2 separate regions of the Homo sapiens genome follow, and region 2 is linked to region 1. Evidence: promoter capture Hi-C in human tissues and cell types (Jung and others, 2019). All regions are on one chromosome and are shown on one strand. The core of a region is centred on a gene start or on the middle of the fragment in contact, and the rest is flanking DNA. Distances in the headings are between cores, read along the strand shown.

Region 1 (3,887 bases), core at 483-2,982:
AAATAAAAATAGGGTTAACCTCAAGACATTCCAGCCAGGCATATCCAGAGAAGCCAAAAAAAATTTGCTTTAGTTTATTCAAAAAATTTGCTGGAATTCTTATTGTGTGAGACATTGTGCTAGTGTTGACAACACAATGGCAACCTAAAACAATATTCCTGTCTTCTTGAATCCTAGTCTATTAGTAAAAGACATTAAATCAAGTAATTGAACTATCAAGTTACAAGTATGATAAGTGCAAGAGAGACAGATGTATGCTACCTGAGCCTGTAACAAGGGGGAGCTGTCCTAATCTGGGGGGCAGCGCGTAGAAGGGAACATGGACAAAAAAATTTTCCTGAGGAAGTAACTTTTCAGCAGAGGTCTAATGGATGAGAAAGAGTTAACCTATCAATCTACAAAGAGAGATAGCCGTGGTTGATTAAAAACTACTAATGTGTGACAGACATTGTGCTTGGTGCTTTATACACATTCTTTTTTTTTTTTTTGAGACGGAGTCTCGCTCTGTCGCCCAGGCCAGACTGCGGACTGCAGTGGCGCAATCTCGGCTCACTGCAAGCTCCGCTTCCCGGGTTCACGCCATTCTCCTGCCTCAGCCTCCCGAGTAGCTGGGATTACAGGCGTGAGCCACCGCACCCGGCCGCTTTATACACATTCTTATTCAATCTTCTCAACAACTTCAAGAGGTTGAAGGTATTTCCCTCATTTTACACATGCAAGCTGAGGCATAGAAAGTTTTAAGTAACTTGCTTAGGGTTACCCGCAAGTTAAGACGCGAAGTGTGATGGGAACTAGAATCTACCTAGAAACCATGGTGCTGCAACCATTTTTCCTGTCCTGCTTCTCAAAAATATAGCACACACAAAGCATTTGGGACACAGGAAACTCTGGGAATCAAACTGCCTGAGTTCTTACCCCGCCTCCACTACTCACTGGCTGCATGAACTTGGACAAGTTATTTAATTTCTGGTTTAATCATCTATAAAAACAAGCACAATAACACCCACCTAATCGGTTACTGAAAGGATTAAATGAGATAACGAATGAAAAGCAATTAGGGTAGAATCTGACACACGGCTGGGGCAGTGCTGTCCAGCAGAAATATAACGCGAGTCATGTACGTGATTTTAAATGTTCTAGGAGCCATCATGATTTAAAAAGTAAACAAAGATGAAAAATTAATTTACATATTTAAACAAATACACTCAAAACATCATTTCAACATGTAATCATTATAAAAATTATTAATGAGATATTACTCCTTATGCGCTATCTCTGAAACCCAATATGTATCTCCCATCTGCACCATTTCTTAGTTCGGGCTAGAGGCTACCGTACCGCACAGCGCAGATCCAGTGGCGGTTATAATTTTGAGGACCCGGCAACCGACCCAACGTTCCATATTTGTCCAGAATCCCTGAGGGCGGCGAGGTGGTCCAGCGGAAGATAAGACCGGCTCGGAACCCAGTGTATAAGACCCCAGGGTTCCGGGGAAGGAGATGTTTCAGCTAAAGGCCTCGGCCGAGACCCCGGCCCCTAGCTTTCTTTAGGGCCTGTTCGACTCTCCCCACTGCCGCTCTCCACACCCACCTCCCACCAGGCCCCTTGCCCCTACCTCTCACGCTAGTCCCCTGCTGCCGCAGCCAGCGGCTCCTAATGGGAGCTCAGGGCGTCCACATTGAGGACGCTAACTCCACAGTCGCCGGCCCATTCGCTCAGCTAGCTCTCGAGTAAGCGCCTGGGATATTTGAATGCAGTTCCCGCGAGAAGTCCCACGTCTCACGAGACGTCCGCCCAAGCCGCGCGGAAAGGAAAAACCAAGAGAAACGCCCAATGGAGCGCCCACCCCCTCCTACAGCTACTGCGCATGTGCAAGTGGCGCGCCGTGGGCTTGGCGCAGGCGCAGGCGCAGACGTGGCTCCACATAAATTTTTCCTTGGGCTGGTTTCCTGCATGTCTTTTAAGTATTTGCTTTTAGTTTCCGTGTTTTGGTGTTTTGTTTGTTCGTTTTTTTTTTTTTTTTGTTTTTACGACAATGCCTTCTAGGGGAACAGTGTCGCTGGGCTGGGCGGTGGAGAGACACCTTTGGCACCATCGTGCGATCTCATGCACCCTACCAGTGGTAATACTGGCGTTAATATTTAAGTTCCCACCATGTGTTAAAGTTTACAGATTATCTCAGTTAAGCCCGCAGCCTTATGAGGCAGATATTACTCCTCGTTTTCTACAGAGAAAAAGCCCGAAGAAAAAAAGTGCCTTGTCCAAGTGGTAGAACTAGAATTGAATGCAGTCTTAGAGTCCAAGCTGTTTGCATGTGTTTTTAATAATAATATTTTGTAACCCTGATGCCTATTCAAAAATTGAAGCGATCAGAAATAATAATAGATAACATTTAATGAGCACTGATGAGTCCTAGTAACTGTTACATGAATCATGTCGTTCTTTCGAGCCCATCTTTTCTTGCCTATTTGAGAACTTGGCTCTAACTGCTCTTTTTTGCATCTTCAGTTTTTTCTTCTCTATTGGATCTTCCCTATCAGTTCATAAACATGCTGCAGTGATTGCCATAAAATCATTTCATGATTTCATTTTTTAAAAAATCCTCCTTGACACCAATCGGCAACCACCCCATTTGTTTTCTTCTCTTTATAACAAAATTTCTGGGGAAAAAAAATCTTTACATCCATTATCTCCATTTTCTTACCTTTTGTTCTTTTGTTTGTTTTTCCCACTTTAACCAGGATTTGGTCCCAACCAATACTATGAAGTGGCTCTTGTTAGGTTTACCAGTGATTCCTACCTTGCAAAATTCGGTAGTCAATATTTAGTCCTCACTTCTGGTGAAATTTGACAGAGTTGCTTGCTCTCATTGATTTGAGTCTTTATGTCTTGGGATGCCACACTCTCCTTGCCCTCTTCTTCTCAGTTTCTTTTGCAGACTACAATTTCTGCCTGAGCTAAGCCAGACTCAAAGGGTTGATCTGAGCTTTAAGATTGGCAACAAATTGCTCACAGTGTTGTCTCACAGATTTATCTGGGACTCCAATGAACCAGATGCTCATTCATTTGTAATCACACCTATGTTCTTGGAGAAATGAAACAAATACCATTTTCCCTATCACTGAACAAAGATTCCTTAACTCAGGGGCCAGGAAAAGATTGTTCTAGCTTAGGCCAATCATGACTGGCTGCAATTAGGTAATCTAAAATCGATCTGAACTTATTTTTTCTCCTTTGTTACAAGAGAAGGTATACCCTATGTTATTAATGTTTCTTCCTATTCTATTTTAAAAATATGTATTTTAAACTATTAATTGAGTGACTGCAATGTGTTAGGCATAGTGGAGGAATTCAGAGATGTGGTAAACTCGACTATTGCCTAGAAGATGCTCGCAATATAGTAGGAGATTTTAAAAAACAAATAGAACTTACAGGGCTGTAAATGCTATGCAAGTGGTATGTGCCCCACACTAAAGGAGTTGTGTGAAGGGAGAGGTATATTTTGTCTAAATGTTCCTTTAAAACTTCCCAGTGCATGTGACACTTCAAGCAGGGCCTTGAAGGATGGCAGAGCTAAGGAGGGGTGCATTCTAGGGGAGGGGACAGCATTAGGAAAGTCTTAGAGGTTACCCCATGTCATAATAAAGGTCATTCTTTAGGGATGGCCTGAATACAGGACTGCCAATACCACCACTGGACGCTAGATGTCACAAGTGAAATGAATTCTAGATGGGTTCTACTTTTAAGATAACTTAATGGAACTTCTGATTCACAATACCAGATGCAGATCTCCGTACTCAGGCAAGGTCCGCATACCATGGCCTAAATACCAAAGGTCAGGAAAAAGCAAAAAACAGCAACCTTGTATCTGTTATTTTCCATTTACG
Region 2 (3,887 bases), core at 832-3,331, 540 kb after region 1:
AGAAAGTGATTCTCAACCCTTGCATGGCTTTCTTCGTGCCTTCCTAAATGTGCAGTTTACCTCTCAGTTCTGATCTGCTCCAAGTGTAGGGATAGGATTATGGATCCGGAGACATTTTAAATATCCAAAGAGAATGTTGCTCTCTCTCTTGCATTTTATTCTTATTTACTTAGCTACTGACTTGCTTTTAAAGCAATGTCAAAGGGAATCTATATGTTCTGCAGTGTATCTGATTCTGGAGTCTCACCTCCTTTCTTGTGTTAATTTAGGAATGTTTCATTTCTGCAAAACTAGTGCTGCGATCTTTGCTTTTCTATGCATGCCTTTCATCTGGTGCTCACAATGTGCTGTACAGATGTTTCACTGCCAGACCCTACTGCCCCCTAATTTGCTTTGTGATTCCTGGCTAGTTACAGTCCCTCTAGGCAATACCACCTCTTTACCTATACCAAAGCACAAAAATAAGGCACCTTTTGGGGGGTAGGGAAGGGGTCTCCCTCCATACACTGTCTCCTACTTCTTTGTCCATCATCAAATCCTTCTCATACTCTGGCTTCCCTGTTCAGTCTGTGTGACTCCCATTCATCAAGTGATAAATTCAATCATTAATTCAATATGTCCGTAGTGAGTGATATATTATACTAAGAACTGTGCCTGTTGTATCCCTAGAGATATAGCAATGCACAAAACACAGTCAGTTACTGCGTCTAAGTGCTCACTAAATGTAGTGGGTGAAATGAATGAAAAGTGAGCACAAACTTAACAATCTGACTCGGTGTATGGTAAAATCGGAGGACTCACCAGGTGCTATGGGAACATGAAGTGTAGGCCACAAACTCTTCTTAATTAGGCAGAGAATGCTTCCTGTAGGATGGAAGAGCTTGCTGTGGTTTGGCTCCTGGGTCTGCAGTTTACAAGCTGTTTGACTTTGGGCAAGTCACTGTACACCTCTGTGCATTTAAAATGTGATAATGATGTAAAAACTTAGTACAGCACCTATCACATAGTAAATACTCATATACACATATTCATTCACTCCTTCTTTCAGTAAAAATCATCTATTGAATACCTACCGTGTGTCAGGCAATGCCCTGGAAAGTGTGGATGGTGCACCCAGGTCTTGAAATACTAATATTTCCAGGAAATAAACTACATCATCTCAGTTCTTTTTTTTTTTTTTTTTCCTGCATGGACTACACTTGGAAGAAGTCTTTGAAGTAACAATAGTAGAAGTTCTTTTTTGCTGTCTGTTGAAGCAGCAACTCAGAGGATTTTCCTAGGTGTGAGGGAAAGCCCGGGCAGTGAGGAAGTAGCAAGTGAAGCTGTGCCCAAGTTGCACGTTTAGGGTTTTCATCTCACCAGCAGCTCCAGCCTACAGGAGTCACCCCTCCCAACCCCCATCCCTGTCTCAAATTAAGGTCTGCTTCACATAGCAGGGCACAACAGGAATGCATTGTCGTCTTCTGTTGCTGTCACAAGTGGTCTGAAAACCTTTAAGCTGTGCAATCCCCCACTGCTGCTGAATACTTGAAGTTCTTCTATGAAACCTTAGCATGACCCCGCATCTCTGGTGCTGCTTCATCTCGCAGAAACCTGTGAACCATGGAGGAGTTCTTCTCATCCCGTGATGGACAGAAGGCTGCTTCTTCAGAGAGAGAAGTATGAGCAGTGGGAAGCTAAGGAAGCTTACACTGTTGTTGATGATCAAAAAATGCAGCAATAAGCACTATCCTTCTCCAGGCCCAGAAACAGAGCTGGGGTCTACAGGCCAGTTGAATTAAAAAGGGGAAGCCCCACTGTTTAGAGACATTCTCTTTCTAGCAACCCTGGCCCTTTCTTTTTTCCTTCTTTTTTTCTTGAGATATAGTTTAACATAAGATTCACCATCTTAAATTATATCATTCAGTGCTTTTTAGTCTATGCACTATGTTGTGTGACCATCACCACTGTCTAATTCCAGAGCATCCCATCACCCCAAAGAGAAATCTGGTACCCATTAACAATTTCTCCCCATCCCCCCCCCCACCTTCCTCCAGCCCCCAGCAAATACTAATCTACTTTTTGTCTCTATGGATTTGCCTATTCTGGGTATTTCATAAAAATGGAATCCTGCAGTATGTGGCCTTTTATGTCTGACTTCTATCATTTAGCATGTTTTCAAGATTCATCTGTAATGCAGCATGTATCGATACTTCATTTCTTTTTATGGCTGAATAATATTCCATTGCATGTTCCACCTTTTGGCTATCATGAATAATGCTGCTGTGAACAATGATATGCAAGTTTCTGTGTGCATGTATGTTTTCAGTTGTATTAGGTATATACATAGGAGCAGGATTACTGGGTCACATGGTAATTCTATATTTAACTTTCTGAGGAACTGCCAAACTGTTTTCCACAATGGCCACGCCATTTATATTCATACCAGCAATGTATGCATGTTTCAGTTGGTCCACATCCTTGCCAACACTTGTTATTGTCCTTTTCATTTTTAGCATAGACATCCTGGTGGGTGTGAGGTGGTGCCCTTGCTTCTGTGCATTGATTTGGCCACTTTAGCCTTTATCTACTACTTCTCTCTACTCAGGGTAGTCTCCTATCAGAATAAGTTTCTCTGATCTGGGATCCAGAGTATTTCCTAAATGGAAAGGAAGATATGAACAGTTTTTAACATGTTCTGTCGTAGTTATGTCATTCTTACTGTTGACTTGACCAGAGTCTGCATCATCCCAATCTTGAGCTCCCAGTTCGGATGACTCTCACTGCTGTTTGCTAATTATAAGGCCTACCTTTGGTAAGGCAGAGATAGCTGTTCCCTCTTAAATCAGCCACTCTTCTTGCCCAGACAACTGGAGTGGGGAATGGAGAAACTCATTGCTTTCTCTCACAGTCTCTTGCTTCTCTTTATTGCTAAGCCAAGGGGTTAATGAAATATACAAAGAGCTCTTGTTTGAAAGAAATTAAAATCAGAGCATAATCACATCAAGGCCTGCTACTCAAAAATTCGTGATCCCTTGAACATAGCTCATATAAAGTGTTTTCAAAAGAGAGTTTGATAGGCAAGTTATCAAGTTATACTTAACCAACTTAAGGGAACAAAGTATTTTCATGCATTTTAGTTGGGTGTTTCTATTGCCTTTATACAGTGGGGTTAAGACTTATAATTATTCTTATCATTGAAGGAAGTCCTGAAGGATCTGCATCAAACAGTGAAACTACCAACTCATTATGTGTACTTGTGGGTAATCTGTGGATATGTTGTAATTCAAACTTTTCTAGCAAATTTAAACTATAATGTGTCTCAACCAGCCCAAATTAATGAGGCTTTGGAGTATGACCATTGAATCTAATTACTAACAAGACCTAAATGAAGTGCAAAGCAAAACTGACTTTGGCTTTGAATTCCAGGTCTGCGCTGGCTGTATGACCTCGGGCAAGTCATTTTTTTTCTCTAGTATAAAATGAGATTCTGATATGTAGGTTACAGGGCTGTTTTGAGAAGTAAATGAGATTACTTATATAAAGTGTCAGTACAGAGACAGTCACATAAATAGGAGGCATTCAATAAAGGAAGCCATTAGTAGTAGTACAAAAGATGTCTCATTCTATAAATAATGGATGTATTTCAAAAATGTTGCCAGTAAACACCCTTTTGTTTTATGGATAATGAAACATTAACTAGATTAGGGAGCTGATTTTTAAGGAAGCCGATAGTAAGCCCTCTTTTGTAAATGGACAGATCGTTTCCAGTTTTTCTTGTTTTTATAGCTCATTTTTGAATAACAGGATTTCTTAAAATGGAACACACCTGTTCAGAATCCCAAGCCCAGCACCCTCATCTCTTACCTCTACTTAAAAAACAGTTTGATTCTCGGGTTGGCAATGTT

The links. The method cuts DNA at HindIII sites, captures the fragments that hold promoters and counts their contacts. A contact is called where the count stands out against the background at its distance.
Region 2: a contact is called between a fragment that was not itself captured here and the fragment with the promoter of SPDL1 in region 1, in 4 of the 25 tissues and cell types used here (aorta, mesenchymal stem cells, mesendoderm cells and 1 more).

What each region holds. Positions count from the first base shown.
Region 1 is chr5:169,581,618-169,585,504 of GRCh38, reverse strand. SPDL1 (spindle apparatus coiled-coil protein 1) reads right to left here and starts at 1,732. Exons shown (of 12, transcript NM_017785.5): 1 at 1,616-1,732. It overlaps LOC105377714 (a long non-coding RNA gene), which reads left to right and starts at 1,844. Exons shown (of 3, transcript XR_941200.3): 1 at 1,844-2,122. RefSeq lists an enhancer at 1,105-2,105. The HindIII fragment of the contact is 9,913 bases long and covers 1-3,887 here.
Region 2 is chr5:169,042,725-169,046,611 of GRCh38, reverse strand. All of the region lies in intron 4 of SLIT3 (slit guidance ligand 3), which reads left to right. Among named protein-coding and RNA genes, the nearest start is that of SLIT3-AS1, 31 kb to the right of the region's middle. The HindIII fragment of the contact is 7,762 bases long and covers 1-3,887 here.